Linked DNA regions of Homo sapiens: all the other regions are linked to region 4. Evidence: promoter capture Hi-C in 16 types of primary human blood cells and fetal thymus (Javierre and others, 2016). All regions are on one chromosome and are shown on one strand. Each heading gives the region's core, a stretch centred on a gene start or on the middle of the fragment in contact. The rest is flanking DNA. Distances are from core to core; before and after follow the strand shown.

Region 1 (4,046 bases), core at 866-3,365, 830 kb after region 4:
TTTTTTTCTGGTATGTCTTTAAGACTTGAAAGAGTTAATTAGAAACCAGTACTTCCATATTATAATTGCATACAGAAAATATTGTAAACAATTAAGTTTTGGATTGAATGTAATTTCTGTGAATAAAATTTGAGAGCAGTGGTTTCTTCATATGAACAGCAATAAAAAGCAACTGAATTGTCCTGGAAATGTGCAGTAGGAAATCCTGTCTGTTTTTGGGCTCAATTATTATATGTCCTGACTCTTTAAAGAGTTCTCTAGAGGAAGGTTGTTAGTCAAAACATTTGAAGAGCGCTCTTTTATTCTTGTATAAATAAAGAAATAAACACACTAGAGCAGCCAAAAGTTTTTATTGGAATGTTTATATAAAGAAGTTTCAAGAATAGTTTCTGTTGTTTAATACATTTTTATTAGTTTTGTGGTTATCATCATTATCTTTTCCACCACATTATCTGAACAAGTATAAACCCATTGGATCTATGTTCTTTAGCAATTGAGGGACCTGTGCAAATTGAGTCAGTATTAGCAAATTCTCAGATATTTTGCTCATGCCAGATTTAATTTAGTTGTGCTTTATGTTTTACCATTTTTAACTGTGTATATAGTCTGGAAGGACCAAAAAGAGACCTCAGAATGTAGTGCTACTTACGGTTATGTAAACAGCTTTTTCTTGATTCACTTGCCAGGCTTATACCTTTCCCCATCACGCTAGACAGACAGTTCTTTGCAGAAAGCTTTCTGATGGGTGCTACAGATACAGTGGTGGTAGGAGGGGCACTTATCTCAAATGAGCTTTGGATACCTGAGCTCTCCTAAGACAGTATTCCAGGGAGTGATACATTCTACTCCTTCACACTTCCCATCTGGCCAATGATTGGATTCATTCTACGGTTAGCCTCATGGCCTCAGGAAGAGAGGCCTTGTTTCAGAAGTTGAAACAGTTAACTCTGCATAACTATTGTGAAGTTCAAATGCATTTCCTCTAAATTTGATTTTTGCTGGGAAGCAGAGTTGGTTAAGGACTGCCATCCAAATGGGGAAATAAAGTGATTACAACAGCTTCATTATATCCTTGGAGGGGATGTCACAAGACTGTTATTGCAGCACAGCTTTAAGGAAACTAGAGTGTGTTTGTTCTTTGACTTTTTTTTGCTTACTTTAAAAGTACTACTTCTGTTACATGTGGGAAAGCCACTTACCTCCTTTTGAAGGGAGATTGGTAAGGGAAAACCAACCTGAGAAATCACCAATAGAGGACCCTGATAGGAGAGGATGAGCACCTTGCTGCAGATCTAGCTCTTAACTTGAATTCTGGGATGTTACTGTTGTGAAGCTTAGAAAAAGTTCTGAGTCATAATTAGCGATTAAAAAATGGAAAGGGGGCGATTGTCCCAAATCACTCAGTGTGAGAGTGATTCTAGTAGAATTTGGTAGAATTTCAGTTGTTAAAGAATCAAGAATGATCATTTTGTTATTGGTTTTCTTTTCTCCTTTCCTTCCCCTTTCTTTTCCTATATACATAACGTAAAAATGGTTAAAATAGTAAATTTTAGGGACAGCATTCAGTAGCATTCAGTACCATCACAACACTCACAGAGTTACGTAACCATCACCACTATTATTTCCAGAACTTTGTCATCACCCAAACTGAACTTCCTTTTCTCCAGCCCCTGATAACCTCTGTTCTCCTTTCTGTCTCTAAGAATTTGCCCATTCTAGGTACCTCATATAAGTGAAATCATGCAACATTTGTCTTTCTGTGTCTGTCTTTTACATAGCTAATGTCCTCAAGGTTCACCCATGTTGTAACGTGTCAGAAAAACAATACGTACTTCAAAATTGCTAAAAAAGAATGTATTTCTCACCACAAAAAAATAAGTAGCTGAGATGATGGATATGTTACTTAGGTTGATTTTATCTTTCTATGGTATATACATAGATTAAAACATCACACTGTACCCCATAAATAAATTTATATAATTGTTGTTACCAAACACACACACACACACACACACACACACACACACACACAGCCAAAAGTGTAAACAACCTAGATGTCCATCACAGATAAATGGACAATGTGGTATATTCATATAACGGAATACTACAGCCTTAAAAAGAAAAGATCATCTTTAACAGATGAAACTGAGATCCAGAGAGACAAAGTGGTTGGATGAAGATAACAAGGTGGTATGACCAGAAATAGAAGCCAAAAGCTGTCCAGAGCTCTTTCCTTCCACTCCTGGGATTCTTAAAAAGTGGCCCAAGAATAGACTTCATGGGGTCTGTATCTCTTGAAATTATAAAGGTTTATGCACATGTTTTTCTGAATAAAGCATTTGTTGGTGAGATTCACGAAGGGGTTTGTAGAAAGTTAAGAATCGCCACAATGTATGATGCTATCTTTCTTTTTTTTTTTTTTTTCTTTTCTTTGAGATGGAGTCTTGCTCTGTAGCCCAGGCTGGAGTGCAGTGGCACGATCTTGTCTCACTGCAGCCTCTGCCTCCCAGGCTCAAGCAATTCTTCTGCCTCAGCCTCCTGAGTAGCTGGGATTACAGGCATGCGCCACCATGTCCGGCTAATTTTTGTATTTTTAGTAGAGACGGGGTTTCACCATGTTGGTCAGGCTGGTCTCGAACTTCTGACCTCGTGATCCACCCACCTCGGCCTCCCAAAGTGCTGGGATTACAGGCGTGAGCCACCGCGCCCAGCCATGATGCTATCTTTCTAATAGTTTGGGTATCTTCTTCCCCACCCTGCTTTTTAAAAATGAAATTGTCCACATATAAGCCGGCCTCTTTTATTGCCTCTTTTCAGTTAGTATGAAATTGAAGTATGGCTATGTATATTTTACATTTATTGAATAACTAGTTGCATTCTACACTTTACTGAAAAGTCAAGCTTATTTAACCCCATTTATAGCCCTTCCCAAGTACATTTGTTGTTTTAATTCCTTGGTGCTTTACCTTGTTTTTTGCTTTTTAATTTTTAAGTGGGGTGTGGGGAGCCTTGTGCTGGTTAGGGCCCAAGTTCTTTTTGTGTTTCTTTGTTCAAGGCTTATTTTGATTGCCAGTCTATTTTGATAAAGCAAGTCTTACTTCTGCGAAAATTATGATTAGCCATTCTTGGACATATAAGGATTCTCTAAGACCTATCCCTTTAGAAAACACTTGAACTTTATTTTAAATCCTACCAGATAGTAATAACTACTCAGGACATTTTTTTTACAGTTTCCCTTTTTTGTAACCCATGATTGTTAACTTTCACTTTGTTCAGTGTTAGGGAAGGCAGAGCTTTTGTTGACTTGCTGTTTCACTTTAGCTTATATTTAGATCTTACATTATGAATATGAATGCATTTGTGATCTGAAAATTCATCTTAAATACATTGTATTTAAGTTTCACTCTAAGTAAATGAAAGAATTCATGTAGGGAGCATAACTCAGTGATTGACATATATGTTATCTCTTATTTCCCTTTCTTTAATTTTCTGTCTTGCCTGAGAAATCTTAGCCCCAGAAGAGTACCCAAAACATGTAGGCCTACTTTTCCTTTAGTTGGACAATCATCTCCTCTGATTTGAAGACCCCACCCATGGTCACCTAACTAGTTAGTAATGGAGAGAATAGGTAAAGACCCCAGTTTGCAGGCTCTTGGTGTCATGAATGCTAGGAAGTGACAATATCAGATGAGCGTGGCATTGTAGTTATCTAAGAAGAAAATATTAGAGCCAGATGTTATTGGATCTGGCTGATCTCTTACTCACACATCTCAAAGTAGAAATCTTGGGACTTGGATCACCCATGTTGGGGGTATGAGGGAGCTTGAGAGTAAGAGGAGGCTCCAGCTAGTGACTAGGTGTGCAAACTTGGAAGTCAAACCTAGGTTTGCATTTTGGCTCTGCCATTTGCAAACTTTCCTTGCTAAGCCTTGATTTCTTCATCTCATAAATAAAGGATATTGCTATTTACTTCCTGGATGATAACCCAGCCTTTAGTGTATGCAATATGAAAAATTAGGGCTTATTTGTCATACAGATTCTGGTTA
Region 2 (3,943 bases), core at 863-3,362, 610 kb after region 4:
TACAACAATAGCCCTGGGAATTAGGAAGGTTGAGTATCATTAATATTATTATTACTCCTTTACAGATGTGAAAACTTAGGCTGAAAGAGGTTACATAACTTGTCAAAGATCAGATTATGTCAGGCACGGTGGCTCACGCCTGTAATCCCAGCACTTTGGGAGGCCGAGGCAGGTGGATCACCTGAGGTCAGGAGTTTGAGACCAGCCTAGCCAACGTGGTGAAACCCCATCTCTATTAAAAATACAAAAGTTAGCTGGGCATGGTGGCATACACCTGTATTCCCAGCTACTCTGGAGGCTGAGGCAGGAGAATCGCTTGAACCCAGGAGGTGGAGGTTGGAGTGAGCCAAGATCACACCACTGCACTCCAGCTTGGGCAACAGAACGAGACTCCATCTCAAAAAAAAAAAAAAAAATTAGATTATGTGCAAGAAATAAGGCCAGGGTTACTCAGATCCTCTGCCTCTCATGCACACACTACCTACTAAACCACACTGCTTCACACAAATTAGCAGTCTTCATTTACATTTTCACAGACCAATTTTGTTATTGTTGTTGTTAGAGACAACATCTTGCTCTGTCACCCAGGCTGGAGTGCAGCAGTGTGATCATAGCTCACTGCAGCCTAAAACTCCTGGGCTCAAGCCGTCCTCCTGCCTCAGCCTCCCGACTAGCTGGGACTACAGGTCCCTCCCGACTAGCTGGGACCACGCCTGGCTCAGGCCAATTTTAAAGAGGAGAAAACTTACAGATCTGGAACAAAAGCTGAGATCTCTTCTCACCATTTGTGCATTTCCTCTTAGAAAAAAAAAAATATATATATGGGCCGGGCGCGGTGGCTCACGCCTGTAATCTCAGCACTTTGGGAGGCCAAGGCGGGCGGGTCACCAGGTCAGGAGATCGAGACCATCCTGGCTAACATGGTGAAACCCCATCTCTACTAAAAATACAAAAAGAAATTAGCCGGGCGTGGTGGAGGGCACCTGTAGTCCCAGCTACCTGAGAGGCTGAGGCAGGAGAATGGCGTGAACCCGGGAGGCGGAGCTTGCAGTGAGCTGAGATCGCGCCACTGCACTCCAGCCTGGGCGACAGACCGAGACTCCGTCTCAAAAAAAAAAAAAAAGATATGAGTGGTTCATTTCAAAAGTCTAGAGCTCTTGCCCTTGAATTACAGCATTGAAGTCACCTTATGATGTGGTGGCTAAGGTGCTAGGAGGCTCAGTGAGAACTTACCCTAGAGACAATGGACGTGGCTTCATGGCCAAACAGGTGCCCAAACTCTGTGTTTCCATTTTCTTCCATGCCTCAGTCAGCCCAGGTTTGCCCTAATGTCTTATTCTTCGTTTTCAGCTGAGCGTAGTCAGTAGTGAAAACAAGTCACAGCTTTTGAGTTTTACTTAGTTACAAAGACTATTTACTAGTATTGAGGAAAGATACTCATTTTGTGGAGCTTCCAAATCCCTGCTCCTTGAGTTTGACTATCTGGATTACATTAAAGATATAATGGATGCATAGAGACATCAAATGGACAGAGCATGTCACAAAAGTTATGTATAAATTATATTTTTGGAACTTGGAATATATTTCACCATAGGGAAATTGTATTGTGCTTTTTAAAAGGCATGACTAAATGATGAAATAAATGGATAATAAAGTTCCCAAGCCAGCACACAAAAGCCTGTTAAGTGTGTTTTTAACCCATAATATACCTAAAGTATAAAGCCAAGTTAGTATTTCAGATACATTTGGTTCTGGGCACCAAATATGGTTTTCATAGGAAGACACATTTTTCCAAGTGGAAACACTTCTAGTGCCTAAACAACATAAGGGCAAGAGAACTAACATTTAGCTTCTGCAAAGCATTAAGGACACTGAGTCACAAAATGGTTAATAACATTTTAGGGTGTATTAATGCTATGCTCAAAGACATGTAGGCAGAGCCAGAATTTAAGCCAAGGTTTATCTCAGCCTGTGCTGTTTCTACTAAGCTTAGTTATCTCTGTAGGTTTATATTCCAAATATTCTGAACTGAGGACAACTTGTCTCCCCAACCCCTACTCCACTTCCTTTGGTACAGTAAGAGGTGAGATGAAGGATGGTACTCCAGAACAGCCAATCTCAAACCTGACCAGGCATCAGAATCACCTGGCAGGCTTGTTAACCAAGATTGCTGGGCCCCATTCCTTGTGTTTCTAATTCAGTAGGTCTGAGTGGGGCCTGAAAATTTGCATTTCTGACAAGCTTCCAAGTGATTCTAATGCTGCTTGTCCAGGGACCATGCTCTCAGAATTCATTAGGGCTTCCCTAATAAGTCTTCTCAACAAATAGCCAATCCTTGAAACGATCAATGATTTTCATAGCTGGTAACAAGGAATGATGAAATTCACTGAATCTTCAAGCACTATAATTATGATTAGTACCTGAAGGGAGCGAGCAGGGCATGGAGAGACAATATAGAAAGGAAACAAATTGTTCTCAGCAAGATTGCACTCCATGCATAGATTTCATTTTCTGCAAAGAAGAAAAGAAGCAAACAATACAGAAATCAGCAGGGAACATTGGGCTTTGAAGATAAAAGCAATAATCAGGCATTGTGGCAACAGCATGATAACTATAAAACAATTGAGTTTACCCCCTTTTTTTCCCAATGCCCAGAGGGAAGCTTAATCAACCAACACATATTTATTGAGTTCTTACAGTGTGGTCAAACAGGAGTGGGTAAAAGTATGGGAAATAGCACTTGACCTCAACAAGTTACAGTGATGCCTCATTGATCAGTTTCTTGGGGGAAGGAAGCATGCCACAAAGTGAAATTCCCAAATAAGTAAAGCTAACTCCTTAAAGTACTCAAATGTTATTTGAAGTATATTTTTTATTTTAAAAAAGTCTTCTGGCCGGGTGCAGTGGCTCACGCCTGTAATCCCAGCACTTTGGGAGGCCGAGACGGGCAGATCACCTGAGGTCAGGAGTTTGGGACCAGCCTGACCCACATGGTGAAACCCCATCTCTACTAAAAATACAAAAATTAGCTGGGTGTGGTGGCACATGCCTGTAATCCCAGCTACTCGGGAGGCTGAGACAAGAGAATCTCTTAAACCTGGGAGGCGGAGGTTGCAGTGAGCCAAGAATGCGCCATTGCACTCCAGCCTGGGCAAGAAAAGTGAATCTCTATCTAAAAAAAAAAAAAAAAAAAAAAGTCTTTCTGAAATCCATACCATCCTACCATTTTAAACAGAACACAAAAACATGGTTTAAGTTTTTCTTGATGATTCTAGGCCAGCACTACAGATATCTCCCTTTAGAATATTAAGTAATGACCATAGGCTATTGAGGAAGTATGTTGCTGTTTACCTACATTTAAAGAGCTTAAGTCTGGACTTAGTATTTGAATTTTCTCCATCGATTGCCATCTTATCTCTGCCTTTATTGGTCCACCTTCTAATAGCTCCACTTCACTTCCTATTTGCTGTTTTTTCTCTGCTATGGATTAAAAGCATCTGATAAGAACCAAGCCTATGAGCGAGGGCCTGAGTATTTTACCTACAAATCGATTGAGTTTTAGGAGCTGGCCTTTGTCATTTCATTCCTGACAAGTTCTCATGTGATGCTGATGCTGATCAAGGAGCCACACTGTGAGAACTTATTAGAGCTTCCCTAATAAGTCATCTCTACAAATGCAAATATTTCTTCCCTTAGTGCAGGAAGCCAGTTTGAAGGCTTCTAAATATACCTTCGCTTTGAGAGGATGTTTGACCTAAAGGAAAGGATGCTTCCTTTCTCCTGAACAAACCCCTTTAGGGCCCTATTTTCATCTTTGGAAATTTTCTAAGTATTCAGTACAGTATCATATTCCCTGCCCCCAGATTTATGTCACCTACTTATTGGATGGATAAATAAATAAGGGTTGTATAAATGCACATAAATGATTGAGCACTCCCCATAA
Region 3 (4,413 bases), core at 415-2,914, 970 kb after region 4:
TACTCTCCGAAATCGCCTAATATTTAAAGGAAAATAATAAGAAGAAAAATAGCAAGAAGTGGAACTACCAGTTACTGAGTTTTCACTATATGCTAAGTGCTTTCCATATATTATTTAACCCTTTCAACAACCCTGTCAGGTAGGTGTTATCTCTCTTTTCTAAAAGTGATGTACCTTACCGAGGATACTCCTCTAATGTGAAGAAGTAGTTCAAACCAGATCTCTTTGGTTTCAAATCCCATACTCTTAAACCACAGTGCTTAAATCTGTAATATCAGTTTAAATGCAACAGAAGGATTTTATGCAAAGATCAAAGGATTGAAAATATTTATATTTGGCTTTAGAGGGAAGGATTATCCCACAGAAGATTACAAGAACTTTTAAGACTAATATGATTTCTTAGATCTATTTCTAATTAGGAGCATTTGGAATATATTCTCTTAGTGATTAAGAGATTAAATAAATGTTTAAACCGTGTGTGTGTGTGTGTGTGTGTGTGTGTCTGTGTGTGTGTGTGTGTAAGGCTCCACTGTATCACCCAGGCTGGAGCACAGTGGCGTGACCATAGCTCACTGCAGTCTTGAACTGCCAGGCTTAAGCAGTTTCCTGCCTCGCACCGTAGCCTCCCGAGTAGCCAGGGCTACAGTCATGTTGTGCCATCGTGCTGAGCTATGTTTAAATTTGTTTGTAAAGATGAAGTCTTGCTGTTGTGTCTAGGCCGGTCTAATGCCTTACCTCAAACACTCTTCTCGCTGCAGGCTTCCGAAGCCCTGGGTGTGATCCACCGTGCCCAGCCTAAAGTAACATTTTTTATCTAATTATTTTTCACATGCTCATTATGGAAATCTTCAAAATCTAAAAGTAAAAGAATGAAAATCTCCTGGAATAACCCCGCTTAGAGATAACTACACTTAATGTTTTGGTTTATATATTTCTAATCTTTTTTAAAAATGTATTTTCAAAAGAAAGGGAGAAAAGAAGTTCACTTTCTTATACTGATTCCCAGTGCTAAACCAAAACTGATTCCATTTCAAGTCCGTGGGGAAAAACTTTTCGCCTCTCACACCCTGTTCATCTACCCACAACACCCTCTAACAAAATAAAGACATAAGTAAATAAAAATTTGAAATCAGTTAAGGAACTCTTGCAAGGAATCACTGTGTGTGTGTGTGTGTGTGTATGTGTGTGTGTGCACGTGCATGCATGTGTGTGTGTGTGTGGTATATACATGTACATACAGATATATACACACGTAGATACATGCATATTTAGAAGTAAGGGAATAAACAAACATTGAATTCAAGAATATTGTCATAAAAGGGCATTGCCTCCTCCCTCACAAAACAAGGTGCACTAAGCTTCTCAAGCCCTCACTTCAGTGGGCTGATGGAAATATAGCCAAAGTATTTTACCATGTTTTGTAAGATCTCTTGGTTTAGCAAATACATTCAAAGAAATTTTTCCACCAAACGTGCCACAAGAATTGTGTTTTCATTTCTCCTGTGCAAGTACAGAATGGAGAGAAAGTAGGCAATCAGGGAGAGATGCAAAGAGTCTAGCAAATTATTTCTAGCATAATCACACATTTAACTTCAGACTCAGCCTTGTTTTATAATTCCAAAAAAAAAAAAAATGAAGGTCAAAGAATACTGCTTTACCAGTATTCTACGTATTTACATATTGGCAGCCAGGCTTAAAATAGAGCCTTACCTTTTTTACTTACCACTGCCGGCTTGGATACTAGTTGGTATCAACAAAAGAAAATCCCCTTGGACAGAGCAATATAAATTAGCCAAGTATTATTAAATGCTTTGTATAGTCTTAGCATTCCACTAGGTGTTAACAGGCACCTAAGAGAACTAAAGCTCATAGTCCTGACCTTGAAAAACTTTATGATCTAGTTTGGATGAATTCAAAATGTTTTCATTGTTTTTTATTTTGCTTTAAAACTACTGAATCTTGTCTTCAAACAAGCTTTTCGTGGAAGACCAATAAATAAGTGGAGATTCCCCCTTTCTAGCCATCTCCCCAATGTCATGGAGTTTTAGGACAGAGCAGTGAATGTACCACTCATCTCATGGATAAGGTAAAACATACACATGATAGGAAAAAAAACAACGTAAGATGGAATTTAGAAACTGGACCCTGACCTTTAAAAAAGTCTCAGCCCTCAGCCTAGCCTCCTTATTTTACAAACTGAGGCACAGAGATGTATGCTTCATGTCACACAACCTCACACAACCTCACACAACCTCCTGTTATCTGACTTCCAGGAAGTAGTACTCATCATTTTGTGTTTAAACAAAATGTTACTATACAGCGTAATTTTTTTCTTTTAACTTTTTTAATCTGAAAGGACTGGAGTTTGCTAGGAGGAGATGAGCAGAAAGGACAGGAGAAAACATATTTTGTGTTAGACCGAAATCTGTGATCACTGGTAGAAACTTTTAGTATCAGTTGACCTCTTGTCTCTGATCATCTCCTTTGTCAAAATGACAACACTTTTTTGCAATTGAGATTGGTTCCTCTTTCAGACTTGGCTTCAAGATTTGATCTCTTGGGGTCGTGCTGTCTTTAGCAGTGGAAACTCAAAAAATTACAAATTTGTAACCCTGAATTGTAGTCCATTTCCCATTACCAAGTGTTTAGAGTGCCCTAGTGGCAACTGTAAGTCACCTTTTATAGTGAGGTGTTACTAGCTCACTTTTAAATAAAATTGGAACAGCTTGGCTTTTGTCAATGTAGCAAAAGATGATTTTTTAAAAGGTGGGGGTGGGGCACAGTGGTACACACCTGTAATCTCAGTACTTTGAGGCTGAGATGAGAAGATCACTTGAGACCAGGAGTTCAAGGTCAGCCTGGGCAGTATAGTGAGACCTCATCTCTACAAAAAAATTGTAAAATTAGCTGGGCGTAGTGGCACACACCTGTAGTCCTAGCTACTCAGGAGGCTGAGGCAAGAGGATCACTTGAGCCGAGGAGTTCAAGGCTGCAGTACGCTGTGTGCACTCCAGCCTGGGCAATGGAGCAAGACCCTGTCTCTTAAAAAAAAAAAAAAAAAAGAGAGAGAGAGGAAAGAAATAGGGGAAATAGTAAAGCAGTATATTTTGTGTTAAATACCCTCACTCTGCTATGTATCTGCATAGCATTTTACCATGCAGAAGTACTGTATTTTCTAAATGGTAACATAAAAATTAATGAATATTAAATTTTCTTAACATAGTGATGCTAACTCTAATCTTGTTCTTAACTATTGAATAATGTTACTTCTCCATAATGTTAACAAATTGAAAGTGCTACTATGGATATTGACACTGATTTTTCTGTGAAAATGATAAATTTTCAGTTTTTAAAAATTATTTTTTAAATAGATGCTGTGAGAGACCGTCTGATCCAATTGTTTTATTAATCTACCATACAATAAAACTAGACCTACATCTTTTAAAGGAAAAATTTAAGCATCTACCGAATATAATATTAAAATGCCACCTGTAACTCTTAGAGAAGTGTCTAAGGATTATTTGAAAATGTCTGCTTTCCTTTTGCATGATATATATATCTTTATGAAAATAGGTTATAGTGATTAACCTAGATATATTCCATTCAGTTGTATAATTGTGATGATAAACAGTTCTTAAACATGTCCAAAGAAGCCAAAAGCCAGTAGGCAGTAAACTGTTCACATTCCTAGGAGGGTAACATATTTTGTCTGGATCACTGGGTTTTGTATATAAACTTAAGAAATTGAGTCCTTGATCCTATGTCCTTTTGAGAATTATCACCGACTGGCATAAGTGATTAGATTAGATAAATATATTGAATGTGTTTGTGGAAGATGAGAGGGGATGCTAAACAGGAAGTATAGCAGGAAGACTGGCAGTTTCTGCTTTTGTCTTAGTATCTTTGAGAGATAGTGCTGTTTCCTGCTAAGTAATTTTGCGTGTTACAGAGTATTTAAACACTCATATGCATGGTGTTCGAGTTCACAAAGGGAGTGTGGAATGACCCTCTTCAAACCATCCTATCACACTGGTTTTCTTTTTTCTAAACCACAGTTACTTTTGCACCAACCTAATACTAAGCTTTCCTCTTTGTAGACAAACAAGAGGTGGTTAGAAATGTTTTAGACAAATCTATTTGATTTGAAGTAGGTATTTTTGAGTGCACAGGTTAAATTCCTGCACAGCTGCAAGTATACTACATGACTTTGTAACAGGACATTCAGTTACAGCTCCTAGGTCCTGTGGTCTGTATAAAAAAGAGCTGTACCCATAGGCCTTTCAGAAGTGCCTCCTAGAGTAGTGTTTACAAAGACTTAATTTTAAATGTAATTCTCATTCCTTCTTTGATTAAAGATCTGTAACATGACAGTTGTTTGATCATATCATGTTTTCACAGTTGTCCAGAGTGTTC
Region 4 (4,296 bases), core at 363-2,862:
GTTGCATATCTTTTTACAACAATAAAAGTAAACATAGGCACAGACAGGTTAAGTAATCTGCTCAAAGTCACACAGCCAGTAAGTAGCAGAGCTACTTCAAACCTCTGAAATCTAGCTTTAGAGTCCATATTCTTAACTTCTATACTGTATTGCTTCTCACAAAGTCTCATTTTCTTCATGTTTAATAAGAACAACGTTACCTACCTTACAGGTGTATAAAGTGCTTCACACATGGCAAGAGCTCAAAAAAGTTATTGTTTTGCCTTAGTCCTTTTCTACACATTTAGGCTCCTTGAAGGCCGAGTCTTTCTTAACTATCTTTGCATTTCTCTCATTGTACCTAGCATAGAGTACAATAAATATCAGACTCAAAATAAATACTTTCCTCAGAGAAATATCTGTGGCATCTAGAAATCCAAATATGGATTAAAAAAAGACAACACTATACAAGTAAAAATTTGAAGTGTTGTCATAAAGACATAAAGTAACGTTTGCGCAATTTTTATAGAATGCTCAATTCTGACTGACAGAATTGACACTGAGCTAGCTAAGGCCTGAAGGGGAGTAAGGAAAGGTTGTGTATCTACTTCCCTAAGTGGCAGTTATAAGTACAAAAAATGCAAGTCCAAGGAAAAAAAATCCTTAATGGTGACATCAGGATAATCATAACAGTAAAATACTGTTTAAAACAAAAAAAAAGTCCGATGCAGCAAAACTAGGCTCTACAGACACACTAGGCGCAAAAGATAAAACAGAACAACCTTTTCTAAGGACTAAATAATTACAACAATATTCTCAGTACTATTTGGCATACGATCTAGAAGATCAAAGTAAAGTGTAAGGACAAAATCAGGAGACCTACATTTCCAGATCCCCGTGGCACTGATATTGGACTGTAAAACCATAGATTCCGAGGGCTGCCGCCTTAGTGCTAAGCGGACGCAAGGGCAAGTAGTGTAACTGTTCCAACTCGGAGCCCAGAGTGGTCCAAGTCAAAGTCGGTGCAGCCCGCTACGGTTCAGCTCTACTAAAGGGTTGCAAGGAGCTGAAAGCAGCAAAACGGTTTTTGTGGGGCCTCCAATCGCCTTCCTGAGCGCCCCAGAAACCGGCTAAACCTCGTCTCTCCCGAAACCACCTGGAGTCGCTCCGACTGGAGAAATCAAGAGTCCGCCGCCTTAAAATGACTAAAACAATAAGCAACCCCAACTCCCACTTCAAGCGCGTACGGTTTCCATTTGCTCCCCTGCCTCAGTGGGAGGAATGGAACGTGAAGACACCGCTTCCCGCCCCGCCCCCGGTAGGCCCTGAATCAGTTCGGGGTTAAAAATAATGAGGCGGACAAGGCGGCCTCTGGCCACAGTCTCCAAAGAAAGCGAATGACCCGGGTATCAGACCAGCTCAGACCCTCACACCAGAACCCTGGGGTCCGCCGGGCCCCGCAGCAGCAGCCTCGAAGGGACAAGAAGAGCCAGGAGAAAAAGAGGACGGACAAGCTCACCTGCCGCTTGTTCATCCGCCGCACATCGTCCAAAAAGTCTAGAGACAGCATGGCGGGGACGGCGAGCAGGACACCGGCAGGGGAAAGGGCGCGATGACCAGCGGGCGGAACTACTGGAGCTCGGGTCGGGCTCACACTGGACAGGACCCCGCAGTGCTTGCACTTCCGCTTCCGGGGCGGGAGCTGGCACGGTCGGGCACGGTCCCCGCCCCCCGCGCCCCTTCGCTGCGGAGAGCTGACAGAGAGACTCACGACCTTGCTAGTCCAGTCTCAGGGCTTGGCCTCGCCGTGGGAGGGTTCTCACGCTCTGGCTCTCGCCTGCCAAAAACCGACTGGACGCCACTTCCCGCGCTCGGCCCCGCGGCCCTTCACCGAGGCGGCGACCCAGGCTTAGTTGGGGAGGCTGCTCTGCCACCTTCGGAAGGCGGGCCTCTGTGCCCGCCCGGCCAATCGCGAGCAACCTCTCCGGTGTGGGCGGGTAGAAGCGGTTCCGCGTCCCGGCTTGGGTATGGGTGTGGCAGTGGATGTGTCGTCTGACCGTAGGTTCTCTGGTCGAGCAAGTCTCCTGCGCTATGGGAAGCTGAGGAGGTGCTTTCTTTCTTTCTGTCTCTGTCTCTCTTTCTTTACGTCTCTGTCTCTGTTGAGGTGCTTGCTTGCTTGCTTGCTTACTTTCTGTCTGTCTGTCTCTTTCTCTTTTTCTTTCTCTTTCTCTCTTTCCTTTCTTTCTCACTGTGTCGCCCAGGCTGGAGTGCAGTGGCGCAATCTCAGCTCACTGCAACCTCCGCCTCGCGGGTTCAGGCGATTCTCCTGCCTCAGGCTCCCAAGTAGCTGGGACTACAGGCGCGCGCCACCAAACCTGGCTAATTTTTGTATTTTTAGTAGAGACAGGGTTTCACTATGTTGGCCAGGCTGGTCTCGAACTCTTGAGCTCAGGTGATCCGCCCGCCTTGGCGTCCCAAAGTGCTGGGATTACAGTCGTGAGCCACCGCGCCCGGCCATCGAGGTGCTTTCAATAAGTGCTTTTCGCGTAAGGTTGGACCGTGTGAGAGACCTTCCGAGCACTGCCTGAGCCTGCCAGGAGTTTACAGTCCAATTGGAGAGAAAACAGCCCGGGAGAATTAGAAAACATCCAAATGGTGCAACAGCGTGATGAGACCACCAGTGGTGTGGGTCGTTAGGAAGTGGCTTCCTTTCTGACCTTGACTTTGCTGACAGGATTTGACATGGTCTCCTTGAATTCTACCTCCTGGTTTTCTTAACTTGGACACCTTGAAGTGACTATCTTTTCGCTACCTTTTGCTTTGACTGGCCAAAGCTCCTAATACGCACTTCAGTCAACAAAGACTAAAGCTGGATTACTTGGTATCATTTCTCTCTCTTTTTTTTTTTTTTTTTTTTTTTTCAAAATAATCCTTCTCTCCCATTAGGGAAAGATGAATGAAGGATATACTGGAACTCTTTGTAGTATCCTCGAAATTCTTTAAATGGAAAGTCATTCCAAAATAAAAACTTGAATTTATTGGAGGATGGCTGTAATAAAAAAGACAAATAATAATAAGTTTAGGGGAAGATGTGAAGAAATTGGAACCCTCATATACTGCTGGTGGGAATGTAAAATGGTGCAGCCACTTTGGGAAATAGCTGCAGTTGCTCAAAAGGTTAAAGATGTGCCGTCTGCAGTGGCTCATGCCTGTAATCCCAGCACTTTGGGAGGCTGAGGCAGGCAGATCACCTGAGGTCAGGAGTTCCAGACTAGCCTGGCCAACATGGTGAAAACCCGTCTTTACTAAAGATACAAAAATTAGGCGGGTGTGGTGGTGGGCACCTGTAATCTCAGCTACTGGGGAGGCTGAGGCAGGAGAATCGCTTGAACCCAGGAGGCAGAGTTTGCGGTGAGCCGAGATCGTGCCACTGCACTCCAACCTGGGCGACAAAGTGAGACCCTATCTCAAAACACACAAACAAAAAAAGGTTAAAGATGGAATCACCATATTAACCAGCAATTCCACTGCTAGGTATATACCCAAGAAAATTGAAAACGTTTGTCCACACAAAAACTTGTACATGAATGTTCACAGCAGCATTATTCATAATAGCTAAAAAGTGGAAATAACTGAAATGTTTATCAACTAATGAAGGGATAAATAAATGTGGTATATTGGAATAATGTACTAATAATTCCGCTGGTACAATGGAATATTAATCTGGCAACAAAAGGAAATACTACAACATGAATGACCCTTGAAACAGATTTAGTGAAAGGATCCAGTCACAAAAGACAAAGCATTGCATGATTCCATTTAGGTGAAATATCTAGAATAGACAAATCCACAGAGATGGAAATCAGTGGTTGCCTAGGGCTGGGAGAGTTGGGGAAAATGGGGAGTGGCTGCTAATGGGTATGGAGTTTCTTTTAGGGGATGCTAGTTCTACAACTATGTGAATATACTCAAAACCATTAAATTGTACACTTTACACTGGTGAATTGTATGGTATGTGTATTATATCACAATAAAGCTATTATGAGAAAGAAAAAGAAACCACTGGTGTCTGGCTCACTGTTAAATTCCTAGTGGTGAACACATAGCCTAGCACATGTTATACCCAATAAATACTTGTTGAATTTAAAAGTGTGTGTGTGTGTGTGTGTGTATTTTTGTCACCTCCAAAAACTGCTGCCTCTAGGCACCCCACACTTATTGAGTTGAAAAAAAATTCCTAATTTATCCAATTTAGGAAGACTTGTGGAAGAAAATACATGTGAACTCCATGAGGACAGGGACATTGTCTTGTCCACC
Region 5 (4,013 bases), core at 75-2,574, 900 kb after region 4:
CTTTCCAGCCTGTGGCACAAAGCCAGAAGTTAGAAATAAAAAGGTTAGTCTTTATGTCTCAAACAGTAATCTAGGCTCTTTCAGAAAATTATATTATTTTGAAACAAGTTTCTCTCTCCTAAAAACTTCCTGAAGACAGACACCTTGTTACCTATTTATTTTGCTTGCCTCCACTAGAAGTCACAAAATATCTGTTACATTGTTATAAATTATCTGCATGTAAGTCACTGGACAGGGATAGGGTAGAAAAGCTTTTTTGTTGTTGTTGTTGTTTTTGTTTTTTGTTTTTTGAGGCGGAGTCTTGCTCTGTTGCCAGGCTCGAGTGCAGTGGCGCGATCTTGGCTCACTGCAACCTCCGCCTCCGAGGTTCAAACGATTCTCCTGCCTCAGCCTCCTGAATAGTTGGGACTACAGGCATGTGCCAACATGCCTGGCTAATTTTTGTATTTTTAGTAGAGATGGGGGTTTCGCCATGTTGGCCACGATCTGGATCTCTTGACCTCATGATCTGCTTGCCTTGGCCTCCCAAAGTGTTGGGATTACAGGCGTGAGCCACCGCGCCCAGCCGGTAGGAGGGTTTTAATGGTGATTAAACCATCTCTGATCCCTAGAGAGACAGATGCCTGGGAACCTTGGAAGCAGGAATCATTTGATTCTAATTAAAACAGAAGGGAGTGGCAGTGAGGAACAAACCATATTGAGGACAGAGGGGAGGCAGCTCTGTGTTCAAAAAAAGAAGAAGGGCGAGTTCTACATTCTAGCTTGGTGAAAGCTTTTACAGAAAAGATAATAAAGTATCAGTTTATCTATACATTCAAGCCTAAAGGCTCTTTCTGTCTGTGCCCTAGACCACATAGTTTGGAAGTATTTGTAAATCTCTGGTCAAGTTCCCATGCTTTTGATAAGCCTGAGCAAGAATTTTATTTACAACTTTTAAATCTCTGTCAAATCGTCTTGTTTCTACTGTTTTGTAGCCTCATTTGTAATGAAAAGCAACATCTGTTTCACTGCACATGTTGGTACCACTACAGAGCCAAGGCTCACTTGGGGCACGAGAAGGGGAGGGGTTGTCCGCCTTCATTCCTCGGATGAACCAGTGAGGAATAGGGAGATAAAACCTTATGGCTTTTATTTCAGAATAAAGCCTGTATGTAGCTGGGGTGTATTAATAGAAAGTTGAGGAAGACGTTTACAGTCTTCTTAGCAGGGTTTGCTGTATTTCCCTCCTTTAAGCTGGTCAGCAACTTGAATATCTGGCCTGAGGACACAGCAACTCATCTATACCCTTTTTCTATATCCGTTTTTTAGCTCCTGAAAAACCTTTTCACCAACTTTGTTTGCAATGTCAACAGAAATGTAGGTGTTAAATCTCTCCTCTCCCCTTCTGTTGTGGTATTTGAGCCACTGCTTTCACAGCCTAGCTAAGGACTACTCTGGACAACTCAAGGAAAATGTCAGCAGCTCCTAGAAAGAGAAATCCTTTTTTTTTTTTAATCCCTTTTTCTTTTGTTTCTTCACTCCTTTCTGCTTTTTGCTTCCCTCAGTTCCTCATCCTTTTCCCTCCCAAATCATTCATGATCCAAGTAAGAGAATGTCTCAGGTGAGAGAATGCATTCTGAAGTAAGTCTGTCCCTGAGAATGTTAGATAGAGTGGGGGGCTAGAAGGGTCTGGAATAGTAAGAAAACAGGCAAATGAAGTAGCAGACCCACAATTCAAGACCCAGTTAGTGTGCATAGAAACACTGAAGAAGTCCCAGCCAGGCAGCTATACTTAGTCGCAACAAATATTAACATACACAGAACTCCTTTGTTCCACTCCTTTTCTTTTTCATTTTCTTTAAATCAACTCCATCATCCCTTCTCCCTCCCCAAAAATAAAGCTTAACTCTTGATAATTTTTAAACTTTATCAGACACATTTATAGCCACGTCTCGATCCTAGAGACATAACTGCAATATTTGGCTGACATTTTTCTCGTGTTAAATCATTGCTTTGCATTTGGCAGGGAGGTATAGTGTATGCTTTGGGTAGTTTCAATTTTCTGTACCTCACGACAAGTCCATTGTACACGCTTGTGGTGTTTAGTATAACACCCCCCTTCCTTTATTAGCATACTACTCTGACATCAAAGAACTGAGCTGCATCTTGCAATGCCTGACAGAGCCTTTTTCATAGGGGTGGGAGGAGGAGGAGGAGGAAGAAGAAGCGGGTTGGAAAAGGAAGCCTTGTTTTTCTCTTCGTCTCGGTAGATGAATCATGTTCCCACAACTGCAATTGGGTTTTCAAACCTCCAAGGCTGCGGGTGCGGAGCTGAAAGGGCAAGCAGTGACGTTCTTGAGAGAGAAGGAAAAAGGGAGGAGGAGGCTGGCTAGGGAGGGAAGGAGGGAGGGAGGGAGTACAGCAGGAGTGGTCTTTTATTTTTTTCCCTTTTACTCTGCTGTCCTTAGAGATTTTCAACTTAAATCAAAACCAAGCCCTACTGCCTGGTGAGCAAGAGAGATTCCAAAGACTTTACTTTGAAAAGCATCTCCCAGCTTCTACTTTTTTTTAAGGAAAAGTAGATTTTCTTTGTCTTTGTTTTTGTTTTAAGCAAGAACAGAATCTAATGACTTTTTTCATGCCATCGCTTTGAAATAGCGTCGTCTTCCTTTCTTTCTCTCCCTCTTCCTGGCAAAGTATATACTGGATTTTTATTGCCTTCTTGGGTTTTTTTCCCTACGTGTATCGGCCGTTATGCTTAGCCAGTTTATTCTTTATTTTTTTACTGGAGTCATTGCCAGTGATGGAAACGGTGTTTGCTTCTCTTTCAGTCAAGATCTGCACAAAGTATAGCATTAGGTGGTATTTATTGTTTATATTATGAGTTCTACATTCATCTTTCCAGCACTCTGAAGTTATCAGCAAGTTCTCAGTCAGTTCAAGGCATTGGATTCTGCTTGATTTCTTTTTAATTCATTGTTTTTGACCCCTTTGAGAGTTTTAATAGAGAGGAGTCTGGAAGGCAGAGATCTCCACCACCTAACCGTGAGAAATTTGGAACTAAGGACTTGCACTGGTCCCCAAGTTAACAGTGGATATACTTCCTGCATTTTCTCTGTTCTTTCTTGCATTTGGGCAAAATGTATGAACGGCACAAGAGGCGCTACAGCCTCTGTGACATCTCCAAGGTGGACAGGACTGTGGACGTGGTATTGCTGAAGGTAAGGGGGGCTGCACCTCATGCATTCTGAAGCTCTGCAGGCTGTTTTAGCGCTTTGAACCCGGTAGCCATGTCCCTGGCCCTCCTGTATTGGGAGAAAGGCCGAGAAATCTGTGCACAGTGGAGGATGAGGGGTGAATGTAAGCCTCTTAAAGGAATATCTGAACAGGAAGCAATAGGTGCTTGGTAATCAGCATTGGACCACTTACTGTTGAAATGTAATTTTACTTTCATTAAAATGGATTCTTATGCTTGGGAGAACCTCATACTGTTGAAAATCACAGAGAGAGAAATTCACCTTCCAAGTTGCTCTGTTTGTCCTTCTGTCTCTGTCACCCCTCCGCCCCCAGACTCCACCCCCATCTGCCTGGTCTCTTTCTCTGTCAGTCTCTCTGCCTCTGTCTTTTAAGTATTTCTGTCTTTTGTCTGAGTCTTTTCTGTTTTTCTGCTACTGTCTCGTTCAATTCTTTAGGGGAAGGATAGGCAACATTTATTTCTTTTGGAAGGATTTCCAATAAACCTATCTATTAAGGTGGCAGAGCTGACCTTTTGGCTTGGTTTGACTGCTTTTCAGAGGTAGCTTCTGACTTTGTTGATAGCTGTATTTGTTTGTGTTCTCCGCATTAGTGATGTTTGGTGTCTAAGCAGGATGAGGGCGGAGACTCTGAATAGCTAATTGCTCACAGAAGGCATCCTTGAATCTAAAATTAGTAAGAACTCCTCCAGCCGGTAAGATGAGAGTCTGGGAATGTTGGACAGCTCAAAGAGCACTTTTTGGAAATTTAGCAATTTTCTGGCAAAGGCAGGGGAAATT
Region 6 (4,111 bases), core at 1,039-3,538, 990 kb after region 4:
ACTTAGTGGGGTCTTTCAGAATAAGGAATTTGTTATGTTCAGGTTTTGGGGTCTTGCCAGTGGTTCTGTTTTGCTTGCTTTAAACAGATGTAAAATGATACTGAGATTATTGCTGATTTATTTTCTGTTGTGCTAGCAGCATTTCAGTACTTTTGTGGTAGGTTGTTTCTTTTACATAAAAAATAAACAAGTAAACCAGCTGCAATCTAAGTAGGAAACATAAGAATTTAGAATGTGTGTGATGGTTAGATTTTACTTCTGATTTCATCAGAAAAGTTGCCCTCTAGACAGTTTTCTGGCATTTATAGTTCATTGCTTATATGAGAGAATAAAATACATATAGTTGATTAAAGGAAGGAAGTTTATTACTTAGGGAAAAGGAAGGTAAAAAAAGACCCTAAGCAATAAAGGCAATTCTTTTTTAAGCAGAATACTTTCATTTTATTTCATTTTTGTTTACCAGTGTTGTTACGAAAACTGCTGCTGGGGCTACTTCAGCTGAGATGATTTGGCTCTTTTTTGTGGCTTTCTTCTTGTTCTGTACATCAGCACTGTGGTTATTACACCAGCTACCAAGAACATCTCACATGCCTTTTGCATATAAGCACTCTTAGTCCAGATAGGGCGATGTCTCAAATCCCCCAAAGATTTTATTTATTGGCCAGGTGCCGTGGCTCACGCCTGTGATCCCAGCACTTTGGAAGGCTGAGGCGGGTGGATCACCTGAGGTTAGGAGTTTGAGACCAGCCTGGCCAACATGGCGAAATACCATCTCCACTAAAAATACAAAAAATTAGTCAGGCGTAGTGGCATGGACCGGTAATCCCAGCTACTCAGGAGGCTGAGACAGCAGAATCACCTGAACCCAGGAGGCAGAGGTTGCAGTGAGCCAAGATCGTACCACTGCACTCCAGCTTGGGTGACAGAGCAAGACTCCATCTCAAAAAAAAAAAATATATATATATATATATACACACACATATATTTAATAATTTTTTTTTGAGAGACAGGGTCTCTGTTAAAGATTTTAAACAAGAAGTTTAAAGTTGCAGAAAGAATTTTGTAGCATGCATTTCTAAATTTGCTCATATTTAACTGTTTTTTGTTTTATTTTCATTTTCTTGGTTAGAGTTGAAATGATAGGAGAAAGTTGTGCATTTCTATCCTTAAAGGTAATTCCTCAACTTGTGTCCTGGAGAAGAATCAGGTCATTTTTCCCAGTTAGATTTTGCTGCTCACATCTGTAGGCAGAACAGTCAGAAGTCTTCAGCCTATTCCCAAGTGATGATCAATGAACTGAAGTACTGGAAGACCTTTTTTGTCAGAGCCTTGGCTGCATATGACTCAGCTCCCAAAGGTGGCTCGTTTCTGTGTAGGCAGTCCTTTGATATTCTGTCATTTCATTTCAGTTTGGCATGGCCACTCCTCTTATCATTGTATAAAGTTGATTTTCTTAAGTTAGCCTCGCTAATGGTTTGTTTTATTTTTCTTCCGAAAGATAAAAAACACATAGTATATAACCATTCGCCAAAGATCTGTGGTGGTTGGTGGCATGGGTTAAAAAAAAGATACAGCAATAGATAGATGATAGTTTCCAGTCATGTGGGTTTAACTTCATTTTCTTTGGTTTGATGCCTCCTTGTAGCAAAGAAAGAAGTTGAAGGCTGGACTGTTTGTTTTAGGTACAGAGGAATCCGATTAGGGATCAGCTCTGTTCCCATAAACCACTGTGCTGAGACCTTTTTGAAGAATTTTAAAAAATGAAAGCATATTGCCTACTGCTATTAGGAAATCTATCAAATAAATAAATAAAAGGCCAGATAATTATTTTCTGATCTTCATAACAACATGGTATGGTTTGTGGCAGAGAGCTTAAAAATGTATTAGATTTGTCTTCAATTCTTGTGTTCTTGGTAATTTTCTGTTTTCCCAAACAGAGAGTAAGATTTTAGTCTCATGACTTTGGCTGATGTCAGTGGGGCTGAAGTTTCTAAATCACCCACGCACAGCTCTAAAACTGTCACTGTGAATTGAGTCCAGGACAACTTGGAAACAAGTTGAGTGTTTTTCAAGTAGGTACTTCAGCATGTTAAGGAGATGTCCATGCAAACTATCACTAAGAGAAAACTCATGACCATAATATAGAGCGTGTTAAACTTCCAGCTGGGTTGTGGGTTTGGGGACATGTTTCAATTAATTAAAAGTGAATTTATGTGAAAAGTTCTTTACTAGAAGCACATTTTAAATGATTTTTTTCTGCTTCTATGTTCATCTCAGACACTCAAACACTGGCCTGAGAGTTTGAATATTGCTGAAACCTTTTTACGTGATAGTGCCACTCCCTTAAAAATCATCATTGCTTAAATCTCTGTAGGGTGTTGGAACTGGTTGGGAAGAAAGGAACAGAAAGAACAGAACTTGGAAACAAATTCTGCCCATAGTGTTCTTGGTCACTTTTGCAGATCAGAATTAGTAGCTGGTTCTCCAGCAAATCTGCCACCTCCTGTGTTGCCCTTAGGTGCCTAAAATATTATAGATTTTCAATAAAACAAAAGAAAAAAAATATACTTTTTTAACTGGATTATAAGACAATAAAATCTTATCTTTAAGTTATCACAAGATGCGATAAATGGATTATGCAAAAGGATATGGAAATGTTTATAAGCAAATCCAAGGAACTTTGAACGACATTAGAGTGTGATGATTTTTTAAAAATTAAAAATTTTTTTTAATTTTGAAAAATGTTAATACAAAGTATTATACATAGGTAATTTATCACATATGTGTCCATGATTCAGAATGAACACATAGTAACATTCTGTCAGACGGCTTCAGATTGTTTCACTTTTTAAGAAACCATTATGGTTAAGTTCAGATTCCCCTTTGTTTCCCTGCCCCATGCATCTTCCTTCCTCCCCAAGGACAAGGACTGTCATGAATTCAGTGCATTCGTAGTCTGTGTTTTATAATTTATTTTCATACATAAACAACATATAATTTGTTTTTGTTTTTAACCTACATAAATACTACCATACAGTACCTCTTTTTGTAATTTGCTTTATTCTCTTCAGCATTATATATTGAGGATTCAGCACGCTGAAAAACATAGATCTACTAATCATTGACTTTGCCTTTTCATAGTCTTTTTATACTTTTTCTGTAGAAGGGAAAGAGAAATGGACTTAAAGATGATGTATTTGAAAGACTTTAGCTGAGTGGGGATTTGTGAAGAGAAAGGGTTTGAGTGGGGTGGGCTTTCAAGTCTGTGCATGGGAAGGATATGATGGATCAACTAATGGGAGAGGAAGAAACCAGAAAGGAGCATGCCAGCTGCAAGTCCTGGGCATCTCTGTGGCAGAGGAGGGGAGGTGCACCATACACCCTGAGTAAGAATAGTGCTCGTGAGGATGGGCAGAAACATGTTTTGGCTTACTAGAAAATAAATAAAGCCGTTTGCCTCGACCACTTTGTTATGCTTCTTGCTGTGGGTCCAGCAGCCTGAAACTCACTTACCCATCTGATAGAATCACAGCAGAGGGAACCTGGGGGAAAATGTGATTCCTCCTTTTTAATTTTATAGATGAGGAAACGGAGGCCTGTCAAGAAGGGACTAGGGTCATACTAGTACATACATACATGCAGAGCCAGGACCTACGTCAAATTTAGTTTGACAGCTGTTTGTCCTTTTGTGTTACTAAATTGATGTTTGACATACTGTAATCAAGGCTGTGTCAGCGCATTCATCTAATTTTAGTTTAAATAGGCATAGTAGGGCCGAGAGAGGAGCATTTGAATAGGATGCATGAGCTAGGCACTATGCTGGAGAGTCTTAATTTGAAGATTCAGCAGTGGGTGAATGGTCCCTGCCCCAGAGAGGGGATAGAGAAAAACCTAAGAGAGTCTCAATACACTGTGCCAGTGGTATTAAGGAGGAGACCTGTGAACCAAGTGGGTGTTAAAGGAAGTGTTACAAAAGGCATGGAATAGGCCTTTGAGGTCTGGGATTCTAGCAGTCTCCTTTCTGGTTTCCTTCCCTCCCCATCATCACTCCAGTCCCCCACAAATCCATGTGTCTGGGCTAAAAGAGATGTTGGCCCAAAAGAGATGTTGG

Evidence for each region. The method cuts DNA at HindIII sites, captures the fragments that hold promoters and counts their contacts. A CHiCAGO score of 5 or more calls a contact.
Region 1: a contact is called between a fragment that was not itself captured here and the fragment with the promoter of SEC11A in region 4, in 1 of 17 cell types (monocytes). The highest score is 7.4, in monocytes.
Region 2: a fragment that was not itself captured here is called in contact with the fragment with the promoter of SEC11A in region 4 in 1 of 17 cell types (total B cells); the score reaches 5.9 in total B cells.
Region 3: a contact is called between a fragment that was not itself captured here and the fragment with the promoter of SEC11A in region 4, in 1 of 17 cell types (non-activated CD4 T cells). The highest score is 5.9, in non-activated CD4 T cells.
Region 5: a fragment that was not itself captured here is called in contact with the fragment with the promoter of SEC11A in region 4 in 1 of 17 cell types (monocytes); the score reaches 6.9 in monocytes.
Region 6: a contact is called between a fragment that was not itself captured here and the fragment with the promoter of SEC11A in region 4, in 1 of 17 cell types (total B cells). The highest score is 6.1, in total B cells.

Annotation. Positions count from the first base shown.
Region 1 is chr15:85,544,329-85,548,374 of GRCh38, forward strand. All of the region lies in intron 5 of AKAP13 (A-kinase anchoring protein 13), which reads left to right. Among named protein-coding and RNA genes, the nearest start is that of AKAP13, 170 kb to the left of the region's middle. The HindIII fragment of the contact is 1,568 bases long and covers 1,332-2,899 here.
Region 2 is chr15:85,324,550-85,328,492 of GRCh38, forward strand. No RefSeq gene overlaps it. Among named protein-coding and RNA genes, the nearest start is that of MIR7706, 54 kb to the right of the region's middle. The HindIII fragment of the contact is 253 bases long and covers 1,987-2,239 here.
Region 3 is chr15:85,684,988-85,689,400 of GRCh38, forward strand. The region is part of intron 16 of AKAP13 (A-kinase anchoring protein 13); the gene reads left to right. Among named protein-coding and RNA genes, the nearest start is that of LINC02883, 72 kb to the right of the region's middle. RefSeq lists an enhancer at 2,610-2,919. The HindIII fragment of the contact is 616 bases long and covers 1,357-1,972 here.
Region 4 is chr15:84,714,527-84,718,822 of GRCh38, forward strand. It overlaps SEC11A (SEC11 homolog A, signal peptidase complex subunit), which reads right to left and starts at 1,613. Exons shown (of 6, transcript NM_014300.4): 1 at 1,499-1,613. The coding sequence starts at 1,549. RefSeq lists enhancers at 1,266-1,831, 1,287-1,356, 1,832-2,397, 2,027-2,146, 2,167-2,276 and 1 more. The HindIII fragment of the contact is 22,021 bases long and covers 1-4,296 here.
Region 5 is chr15:85,616,973-85,620,985 of GRCh38, forward strand. The region is part of intron 8 of AKAP13 (A-kinase anchoring protein 13); the gene reads left to right. Among named protein-coding and RNA genes, the nearest start is that of LINC02883, 140 kb to the right of the region's middle. RefSeq lists an enhancer at 989-1,158. The HindIII fragment of the contact is 1,108 bases long and covers 771-1,878 here.
Region 6 is chr15:85,702,901-85,707,011 of GRCh38, forward strand. The region is part of intron 17 of AKAP13 (A-kinase anchoring protein 13); the gene reads left to right. Among named protein-coding and RNA genes, the nearest start is that of LINC02883, 54 kb to the right of the region's middle. RefSeq lists a silencer at 1,952-2,081. The HindIII fragment of the contact is 4,594 bases long and covers 1-4,111 here.